3 separate regions of the Homo sapiens genome follow, and all the other regions are linked to region 1. Evidence: promoter capture Hi-C in human tissues and cell types (Jung and others, 2019). All regions are on one chromosome and are shown on one strand. Each heading gives the region's core, a stretch centred on a gene start or on the middle of the fragment in contact. The rest is flanking DNA. Distances are from core to core; before and after follow the strand shown.

Region 1 (2,588 bases), core at 89-2,588:
AGAGGGTGGGAGGCAGAGGAGAGGGTGGTAAGCTGTAATGAAGGAGGGTGCTCTCCCTCCTGCTGAAGTGACAGCTGGACTTGGAAGGGTGAAGGGAGGTGGGCAGATGGCATCAAGTTGTAAATGCCAGGGAAGTTAACGTGGGGAAGGGGAAATCTGGCTGCTTCTCTAACCACGGCAGCTGTTCCTCCCTTGCCCAGTGCTAGGACTCAGAGTTGACTCAAGTTGCTCTACAAAGAGCTGGGAGGGGCGGGGTAGGATAGGGGAATTAGTGGAACATCCCACCCCTTCAACAGCTATTTGAGGGCCAGACTGGCCAGTGCCTAAACTTGGGCGGGGTGGGGAAGGAGGAAACTGATGTTGATAAGAGGTCCATACCCCACATTGAGGTGATCCACCAAAGCTTCTGTCAGGCAGGTCGCTGCAGTGATAGCCTCTCGCCTCCTCTTTTCTGGGGAGAGGGGGAAAAGGAATTGGAGGGGAGACTTGGTTTTTTGAGGGGTAGTGTTAAAGGTTCCCTACCCATCCATTACTATTCTGCTAGTTGCCGAAATTTCTTAACTAATCTCTGAATGCCGGAGCTGAAAAGGACCTTGCAAAACATAGCGCAACCTCTTTCATTTTAGAGATGAGGAAACTGGTACCCTGGGAGGGAAATGGACTCACTCAGGGACGCCAGGAAGTCAGCGGCAGCGCCCAGGACTCCTGACTCCCAGGCACTCTTTCTCCACTACTCGGCCGCAGAATCGGTAACTCCGAGATTTCCAGCCCGGACTCAGGAAACAAGTGCCCCACCTCCGTTCCGGTGGTTTCAGGCCTCCAAGAAGCCCATCTCTGGGGGGTTCCCCACACCCTCCTCCCTCCAGAGTCGCTCCTTCCCGCCGCCAGGACGAGAGGCTCCCAGGGCCAATAGGCAGGGCGCTCCGGGGCAGGGGCGGGGCTAAGGTGCGGCAGGTCGGGGATTGGGGGCGTTGCCGAGGGGACCGGAGTATTGCCCAAGGGACCGGAGCCAGTTGGCAAGGGAAAGGAGTTTCAAAAAAAGCCTCTCTGAAATTCCCTCTCCCCCATGCCCGTTGCCCGCTAGCTGGCGTCTTTCCCTGGATATGGTTAGTTACTCGAGATCCAGGCTCCGGGCTGAAGCTAGGCCGCGGCCGAAGAGAAAACGGCCGACAGGATATTTGGCTCACCCTGCAGCTCCTTGCGTTCATTCTGCTTGGCCTGGTGTTCTTTTAGGAGGCGGGACAGCATGGTCACGTCGGGCTGGGGGCTGGGTACGCCGGGCCCCCTCCGGCTCCGGAAGCTGGAACGCTCACCTCGGCTCCCCGGGGCCATGTCACGTGACCGCTGTGTCACGTGAGGTTGGGAACCGCCCTCTTGAGACCTTGGGTGAAGATCTTGGCGGGGAAGAGAGGTAGAGGGTTGCGGAGGGCAGGTGAAGTGTTCTTTATTGGGAGCTTAGTTTTTGGTGAGTGTTGGAAGAAGTATTTTCTAATACTTATATTGCCAAGCCAGTTTTTAACATTTCCTGTGGATCTCAGGCTTCGAGGGCTGGTGGTGTCAGGCCGTCTATCACCGTTTAATTGAGGGAGCAGAAGCTCCCTGGCCTCATTTAAATTATTCTCCTTCCCTCTCCTCACCTCCTGGCAGTGCTAGCTGGTTCTCAGTTGATTCCCAGTTCCTTCCCTCAAGGAGAGGATGCTTTCCTGTCTCTCCCAACCCTCTTTCTTCTCACTACCCCACTGAAGTCTCTCAGCTCTGGGTGATCATTGTAGAGAAGCATTTTAGGCACTTCAGACAGCCTCCTAGGGAGCTTGGCTAACTTGGCGGGCTGTGTGAATGTAGAATTTCATCTCTGTCCTTTTGTGGTCAGGAATGCGAACCCATTTCAGTGTTAGCAGAAGCGTAAGTGCTGTGCCAAAGTAAAAAGTAATTTATATAAGGCCTCTGTGAACTAAAAAGAAATGCTTCCGGGATTAACTCCAGCGAGAACAATTATAAACATCATGAGCATATTCTTGCTACTGGTACAATCTCTCTCGGTGCACCTTGCACTAACATGTTGGGTGACTTTGGGCAAGTTGCTCACCATTCTAGGTTATAGTTTTCTCTTTAGTAAAACTAGGAGAAGGGATTGGATTAAATCGGTGGTTCTCAACCCTGGCTAAGCATTAGAATCTAAACATTAGAATCACAGAAATCACAAGGCTTATAAAAATGCCGTGATTAGCCGGGTGCGGTGGCTCACGCCCGTAATCCCAGCACTTTGGGAGGCCGAGGCGGGCGGATCACGAGGTCAGGAGTTCGAGACCAGGCTGACCAACATGGTGAAACCTTGTATCTACTAAAAATACAAAATTTAGCCAGGCGTAGTGGCACAAGCCTGTAATCCCAGCTACTCAGGAGCCTGAGGCAGGAGAATCGCTTGAACCTGGGAGGCAGAGGTTGCAGTGAGCCGAGATCACGCCACTGAACTCCAGCCTGGGCGACAGAGTGGGACTCTGTCTCAAAAAAAAAAAAAAAAAAGCCTTGATTCCAGACTAATTAAATAGAATCTAAGGAGTGAAGACCAAACATCACTATATATATGT
Region 2 (3,518 bases), core at 380-2,879, 970 kb before region 1:
AGTGCGCCAAGTTAACTTCCTTTTTTTTTTTTTTTTTTTTTTGAGACCCAGACTCACTCTGTCGCCCAGGCTGAAGTGCAGTGGCGCGATCTCGGCTCACTGCAACCTCCGCCTCCCGGGTTCAAGCGATTCTCCTGTCTCGCTCTCCCGAGTAGCTGGGACTAGAGGCGTGTGCCACCACACCCGGCTGATTTTTTTTTATTTTTAGTAGAGACGGGGTTTCACCATGTTAGCCAGGATGGGCTCAATCTCCTGACCTCGTGATCTGCCCGCCTCTGCCTCCCGAAGTGCTGGGATTACAGGCGTGAGCCACCGCGCCCGGCCCCTTCCCTTTTTTTTTTTTTTTTTGACACAGGGTCTCACTCTGTCGCCCAAGTTGGAGTGCTCACTGCAACCTCCGCCTCCCGGGTTCGGGGTTCGAGCTATCCTCCCGCCTCATACTAGCTAGTATTTGGCATTACAGGCAAGTGCCACCACGCCCTGCTAATTAGTATTTTTAGTAGAGATGGGGTTTCACCATGTTGGGTGGGCTGGTCCTGAACTCCTGACCTCAGGTGATCCGCCCACCGAACTTCCCAAAGTACTGGGATTATAGGCGTGAGCCACGGGCGCCCCGCCCAATTTCCCTTTTTAATGGCATTTGAGCTAGGGTCCAGGTTTCGTAGCTCCCACTACCTGTCCTGCACAACACAGACACTAAATACCTTAGTGCTTATTATGAAGCCCCGTTCTTCAGAAAGGTTTTATAGCACTTTCGTTAAACCTCCTTCCTGTTCAAAATGCAGCGCACTAGAGTATTTTTCCCCAATCCACCGTTAAGCGGCTTCTTCTTAAGCAGGACTGTTTTGGGTCTCTTGGTTGCTACCCCTACTACACCCTACTAATATGTTGCACAAAGCGACGGGGAACCCCTTCTCCCCCAAACGATGTGCGTGGAAACACACAATGTCCTACTCTCTCCATTCCCAGAAACCTAGACTCTCCCCTCAAATACCTTTCCTGGCTCATCTACAGCACTAAGGTCTCAAGGTAGGGGCAAAAGCCCGCCCCAATTGGCAAATGCTCCTCCTCCGCCAAGAACCTCGAATTTCCGCTGTCCCTGGACAGAGCCTCCAACCTTCAGAAAAATGGCGAGGTGGACCCAGGCCCTTGATTCTGAAGTGAGCCCTTTTCCACAGCACAGGCTTTTTACAGGTTTTTGTGGTGGAATGATGACTCAGTGAGCTGATTTACTCCCTCAAGAGTAACCAACGCGCCATTTCAGTTCTCCAGGATCCCGACTCCGTGTCCCTCCGCCTCAGCCTTGCCTCCCACTGTCAACGCAACCGTTTCTCAGAGAAATCGCCGAAGGCGCATGGCAGGGCAGTTGGGCCACTAACGGTTTTCTAACGCGAGAAGACAGAGCGGGAGGAGAGGCGGGAACGCGTAGGGACTAGCAGGGGGCGGAGTGGGGGTGGGGTGGCGGACGAAGGGCGGGGCCGGCGCCAGGAAGGATCGCGAAGGAGCTGGGAGGCCCCGCCCTTTCCGTAGATATCTCTAGAAAGCCGCGCCGGAGCCCAAAAACAAGGACTGCGCACGCGCGGCGGCAAGGCCCGGGCATTTTGCTGCGTCACCAGCCGCCGCCCGGCCTCACCACCCCTCGTTTGCACGCACGCACGTTCATTCTCCGTCCTCGCGCCCCTTTTCCTACACTTTCCTCTTCTCCCCGACCGGAGGAGCCGCTCTTTCCGCGCGGTGCATTCTGGGGCCCGAGGTCGAGCCCGCCGCTGCCGCCGTCGCCTGAGGGAAGCGAGAAGAGGCCGCGACCGGAGAGAAAAAGCGGAGTCGCCACCGGAGAGAAGTCGACTCCCTAGCAGCAGCCGCCGCCAGAGAGGCCCGCCCACCAGTTCGCCCGTCCCCCTGCCCCGTTCACAATGTGAGTGCGACACCCCGCCGAGGGAAGGTCGCCGAGTGAGGCCGAGGCCGCGTTGGGGGCTCCCTGGAAGCGGCCCCCTAGCCTTTCTCGCATCGGTGGTGGCAGTCGTTCCTGCCTGGGGGCGGGAGGTCCAGGATCCTTGTTCCGGTTACCGTTGGCGGGTGGAGGACATTTTTCCTCCAGATGTCTGCTTCCCCCACCCCTGAACCGTTCCTTGGCTTCCCCATGCCGGAAATCCTACTTTTACCCCTTTGGCTGTCTGGGTTACTCGCCTCTTTCGGTAACTTCACCCTAGGCCTTAAGCTCCCGGTAGCTGCTCGCCATGCGGCGCCCTGAAGCGTGAACCTTCGTGGGTCGCCTCTCGGCTGCTTGGGCGCTCCGGTTCTGTTGCTTTGTGGTCCCGGGGCCAGGCCCTGAGTCGAGTGCACCTGTGGTGGGTGCCGCCAGGTGCCTGGCGGAGCTCCTGGGAGAGCCCCACGCGGACCTCGCCGTGAGCTGCAGGTACTGCTAGGCAACTAGAAGGAAGCCATGCCCACGCCGCAACATACTTCCCTCTCCAGTGTCTGGGTTTCTTGAGTGTGGGTACTTCCAGTCCGCCTCCTAACTCCAGTCTCTTGAAAACACGGGAGGTTGCCAAAACTCAGCCGCTTCCCTGGCAGCGAGGAGGAGTTACCATTGAGCAGGTAGTTCCGCACGTGTCGACTTTGGAAAGATACGGACATTTTCTGTGTTTCATGTTCTACTTGAGGTGAGGTTTCACTATCTTGTTACAGTGTAGGATGAAATAGGTATGTAGTAGGCATTTAATTAACCTACAGTCGTCCCAAAGATCTTAAATTTGTGTGGAGGTGAATACAGATTCTATGGCAGTCTTCATTTTACGATGATAAAGGAAAGCCTTGGCGATTTTAACCGGTAAGAATTCTTGGCACTGCCGCGTACAGTGGGAACTGCCGGTTTTACAGGGTTTTTTTTTTTTTTTTTTTTTTTTTGACGGGAGGTTATTTTTCAAGGTACTAACTACGTCCTAAAAGGTATGGAGAACAATTAAGGTGGAACCTTTTTTTTCTTTTGTTTTAGACTCCATTCAGAAGAGAGAAGAGGGGAGTGACTTTATGTCTTTGGAAAAGTAATAAGGATTTGCTTGATTCAAGTCATGATACTGAGGCTGAGTATATTGGCTAGAAATCTAAAGGGATGCGTGAGGCTGAAGCGAGTTTATCACTGGGAACAAGCTTCTAGAGCACAGCATGTTAGAATTTTTGAAGGAGCCCCCTCCCCGAAAGTGATACGTAATCGGGGTTTTAAAAAATTTGAATTAGGCTGGGCGCGGTGGCTCACAACTGTGATCCCAGCACTCTGAGAGGCCGAGGCGGGCGGATCACCTGAGGTCGGGAGTTCGAGACCAGACTGACCAACATGGAGAAACCGCGTCGCTGCAAAAATACAAAAAAAATTAGCCGGGCGTGGTGGCACATGCCTGTAATCCCAGCTACTCGGGAGGCTGAGGTTAGGAGAATCGCTTGAATCTGGGAGGTGGAGGTTGCGGTGAGCCGAGATCATGCCATTGCACTCCAGCCTGGGCAACAAGAGTGAAAACCCG
Region 3 (3,518 bases), core at 750-3,249, 720 kb after region 1:
ATTAAATGCCATGGCAGGACTCTAACCCTTGTCTGCCTGACTGCAAGGTTCATAATCTTCTCATTGCTCAGAGTGGTTGGGGAGACAGATAACTGAGTGAGGAAATGCTTGAAAGACAGCATGAAAGACAGAAATATGTCCATATAAGGCATGTGTTTAGGAAGTGTAAAAATTCTCACGGGCTACGGAATTCCAGACCTATATCATGCTGATACAGTCAGTGGTTTATTCTGAAGAGAGGTCTTAAAATAAGTTGTTTGGTCTACTGTCCCTTTCTGAGAACAGTGGTTCATTCTCTCTAAAATTATAATATAGGTGTTGTGTAAAAATTAAAGCCCAACAGTGTAGCTGACTGGGCTAAGGGTCAGAGAAGACCTTGTGTAGCTTTGACGTAGAGACCAAACCCCTCTGAAGAGGCCAAAGACAAAACTTTCGCCAGTAGAAATGCTTCATTTTGGATGTTGGTGAGAGGAACTTAGCAGATCCTCTCTTGGGAAGTAACAATATTAAGTATACACAGAAAGTGAGTTTGAGTCCAGGTTGGTGCCTTAGTTATCTCATTCTCCCTCTCTGTGCTCACCATCCTGGCATCCCTGGGACTCGGAATAATCAGGCTTCTGTTGCTGTATACTCCCGTACTATTTCACTTCCCCACATAGCCTTGTAGTAAACACAGATTACTAGAGACTTCTGCGAGTCTTTCTTTATCACTTGAAAGACCTTCCCTGATGGAATCTTAAAGACAGAGAAGCAAAGAGAAGTAAAGCAGGCACCAGGATGCGTAAATGGCATCCGCCTAGGTGCATTACTTGGTCAGCAGGGCCTGCTCAGGGTCTTGCTGAGCTAAATGTACTTTTCCATCTATTCATTCATTCGACCAATCTAAATTCAGTGTGTACACTGGGCCAGCTGTTGTGCTGAGAATATATGGATGAATACAACAGAGTCTCTTTCTGATGGGATTTACATTTCACAGGAAAGTCCAGTGATGATGGCTGTGCCTACTCTGGAAGGGAAGGAGGGGAGCAGGGGGACCACTGCAGCTGCTGAGGACAGAGCTGTCTCCCACTTCCCCTTTCCCACATCACACTTACTAACTGCTCAGCCTCCTGCTTTTCAGTGGTGTCAGGGCAGTAAATCCCAAGTCCATAAGTAAGAAATGGTCTCAACTGATACCAGGATAAAACAGCTACCAAGCCCGTAACTATCTGATCTGCATGCCTTTCTCACATCCCAACATTCACCACTTTGTTTTTGAATACTGTATACTACAGCTACAGGAAGTTCTTCACGCTGCCCTGGTCTATTTGTGCCTTTTCTATACACTCACGTGTCTCTTCTCATGTCATTTCCTCCATGGGACCATTTCTCTCTAAATCACTGTTTTAGTTCATTTTTACTTGACTCTCTGGAATAAACACTTACTTCAATCATTCCTGCTTCTAAGAATATTCTTGATACACCTATGAAAAATTAGGTGCCCATTACAAGTGGAATTGTGTTTCCCCCAAAAAAGATACTTTGAAATCCTAATGAGAACCTCAGAATGTGACCTTATTAGGAAACTGGGCGATGGCAGGTGTAATTAGTTAAATGATGGTGAAGTTATACTTGAGCGGGGTGGACCCTAATCCAATATGACTGTTGTCCTTATAAGAAGGCGACTATGAGCCGGGTGTGGTGGCTCATGCCTGTAATCCCAGCACTTTGGGAGGGCGAGACAGGCAGATCACAAGGTCAGGAGTTTGAAACCAGCCTGACCAAAATGGTGAAACCACATCTCTACTAAAAATACAAAAATTAGCAGGGTGTGGTAGCGCGGGCCTGTAATCCCAGCTACTCAGGAGGCTGAGGCAGGAGAATCGCTTGAACCCGGGAGGCAGAGGTTGCAGTGAGCTGAGATGGCACCTTTGCACTCCAGCTTGGGCAACAGAGTGAGACTCCATCTTAAAAAAAAAAAAAAGGAGGTGACTATGTGAAGACAAAAACACACACAAAGAACTCCATGTGAAGACAGAGATTTGGAGTATTGCATCTACAGGAGTAGGAATGCCAAAGATTGCCGGCACACCACCAGAATCTAGGAGAAGACAAGGGAGAATTCCCCTATAAGCTTCATGGAATGTGGCCAGCTGATACCTTGATTTCAGGCTGCTACCCTACAATAAACACCACTCAATTTCCAGTACTTTGTTAATGGCAGTGACTGGAAACAAACACAATGCCCCTCCTCTGAGCTCTCATTGCAACTTCTAATTATCTATGCATCTGTCTCTCTTTCTCTAGACTGAGTTCCTGCAGGGGAAAGACTCTCCTTTTCTTCTACCCTGGATCATCTCTAGAGCAGTGCTTGGTAAGGTGCTGAAAACTTGGCACTAAATGATCAAATGAATGAATAAAGAGGCAGAGAAGGTTGCTGAGTATATGGAAGAACATCAGAGATCCAGTCAGAGGTTTTCTTTTGTTTTTAGAAATTCTACTACCAGAAATTTTTCCTTCAATGCTTTGAAATATCAGATTCTTCCTTAAATGCACTTCCAAAGGAAGTAGTCACACAAAAATGGAACAATTATTTGTGGGAGGGATCATTGTAGGCAAATTTGAGAGGAAAGTTGGTGGCAAAAGAAAGGGCCCTAACGGGGGTTGCCCAGACCTTTAAGAGGCAGATCTGCTCTCCCTCAGTTAGGAGGACATGAATTTGGGGTCCAGAAAACTCCAGAAGTAAAACATCCGTCAGCTGTTCAAGGCCATCTCTGGCTACTCCTTTCGTCTTATCCTTTATGCGTGCAGGTCATGAAATTGCTATGACTTTCTTGTCCCTATATCTTTTCTCTCTCTACCCAGAATTCCTATCCTTATTTTATTGGCCTTCTGAACAATTTTTCAAAACCTCACCAAGAATCACCTCGTCATTGATGCCTTTTCTGATTCTTATTGCAAGCCTCTTGTGTTGCCACTGCGCCTTGCACAGATTTCTTGATTTCTGCACATCTACACACATTTAGACCCATCATGAGGTCCTGATCTTTCTGAAGGCAAGAATTATGCCTTTACATGTTTCAATACCCATCTCAGTATGTGGCATATGGCAAGTGAGCAATAAATGTTTGTGGAATCAAGAAATTAAGTAAACCTTGTCTCTAGGGAAATTGTTTTACATCAAACTAAAACCTGGGCTTGGAAAGCTTCCGTACTTTCATACTTAAGTCCTTATGGATGAACCATAACCGAACTTAGTAGGTAGGCAGGGTGGAAATCTAACTGAGGAGTATACTTCTGTAACAAAAGCTGAGTCTCAGCCAATCCCAGTAGCCATACTCCAGCCATTCACAGGCTGTTGTTTAAACCATGTTTAAGTAAGGCAAAATGCCAAGCTGTAACCAGCCTAGCTATTTCCGTACATCACTTCCGTTTTATGTAAATCACTTTCCTTTTTTGGTCCATAAACTCACTCTGACCGCCAGGCATCCCTGGAGCCTCTCTGAATCTGCTGTGATTCTGGGGGCTGCCCAATTCAT

The links. The method cuts DNA at HindIII sites, captures the fragments that hold promoters and counts their contacts. A contact is called where the count stands out against the background at its distance.
Region 2: a contact is called between the fragment with the promoter of PTGES3 here and the fragment with the promoter of BLOC1S1 in region 1, in 1 of the 25 tissues and cell types used here (neural progenitor cells).
Region 3: a contact is called between a fragment that was not itself captured here and the fragment with the promoter of BLOC1S1 in region 1, in 1 of the 25 tissues and cell types used here (H1 embryonic stem cells).

The regions. Positions count from the first base shown.
Region 1 is chr12:55,714,796-55,717,383 of GRCh38, reverse strand. BLOC1S1 (biogenesis of lysosomal organelles complex 1 subunit 1) reads right to left here and starts at 1,338. Exons shown (of 4, transcript NM_001487.4): 1 at 1,188-1,338; 2 at 379-451. The coding sequence starts at 1,332. It overlaps BLOC1S1-RDH5 (BLOC1S1-RDH5 readthrough), which reads right to left and starts at 1,350. Exons shown (of 6, transcript NR_037658.1): 1 at 1,188-1,350; 2 at 379-451. It also overlaps a transcript of ITGA7 not described here. RefSeq lists enhancers at 634-873, 1,154-1,293. The HindIII fragment of the contact is 9,126 bases long and covers 1-2,588 here.
Region 2 is chr12:56,686,395-56,689,912 of GRCh38, reverse strand. It overlaps PTGES3 (prostaglandin E synthase 3), which reads left to right and starts at 1,629. Exons shown (of 8, transcript NM_006601.7): 1 at 1,629-1,915. The coding sequence starts at 1,914. RefSeq lists enhancers at 1-166, 693-742, 1,219-1,744, 2,243-2,362, 2,473-2,522 and a silencer at 1,393-1,582. The HindIII fragment of the contact is 15,862 bases long and covers 1-3,518 here.
Region 3 is chr12:54,999,177-55,002,694 of GRCh38, reverse strand. All of the region lies in intron 1 of LOC107984515 (a long non-coding RNA gene), which reads right to left. Among named protein-coding and RNA genes, the nearest start is that of TESPA1, 16 kb to the right of the region's middle. RefSeq lists an enhancer at 1,021-1,210 and a silencer at 1,311-1,360. The HindIII fragment of the contact is 4,658 bases long and covers 1-3,518 here.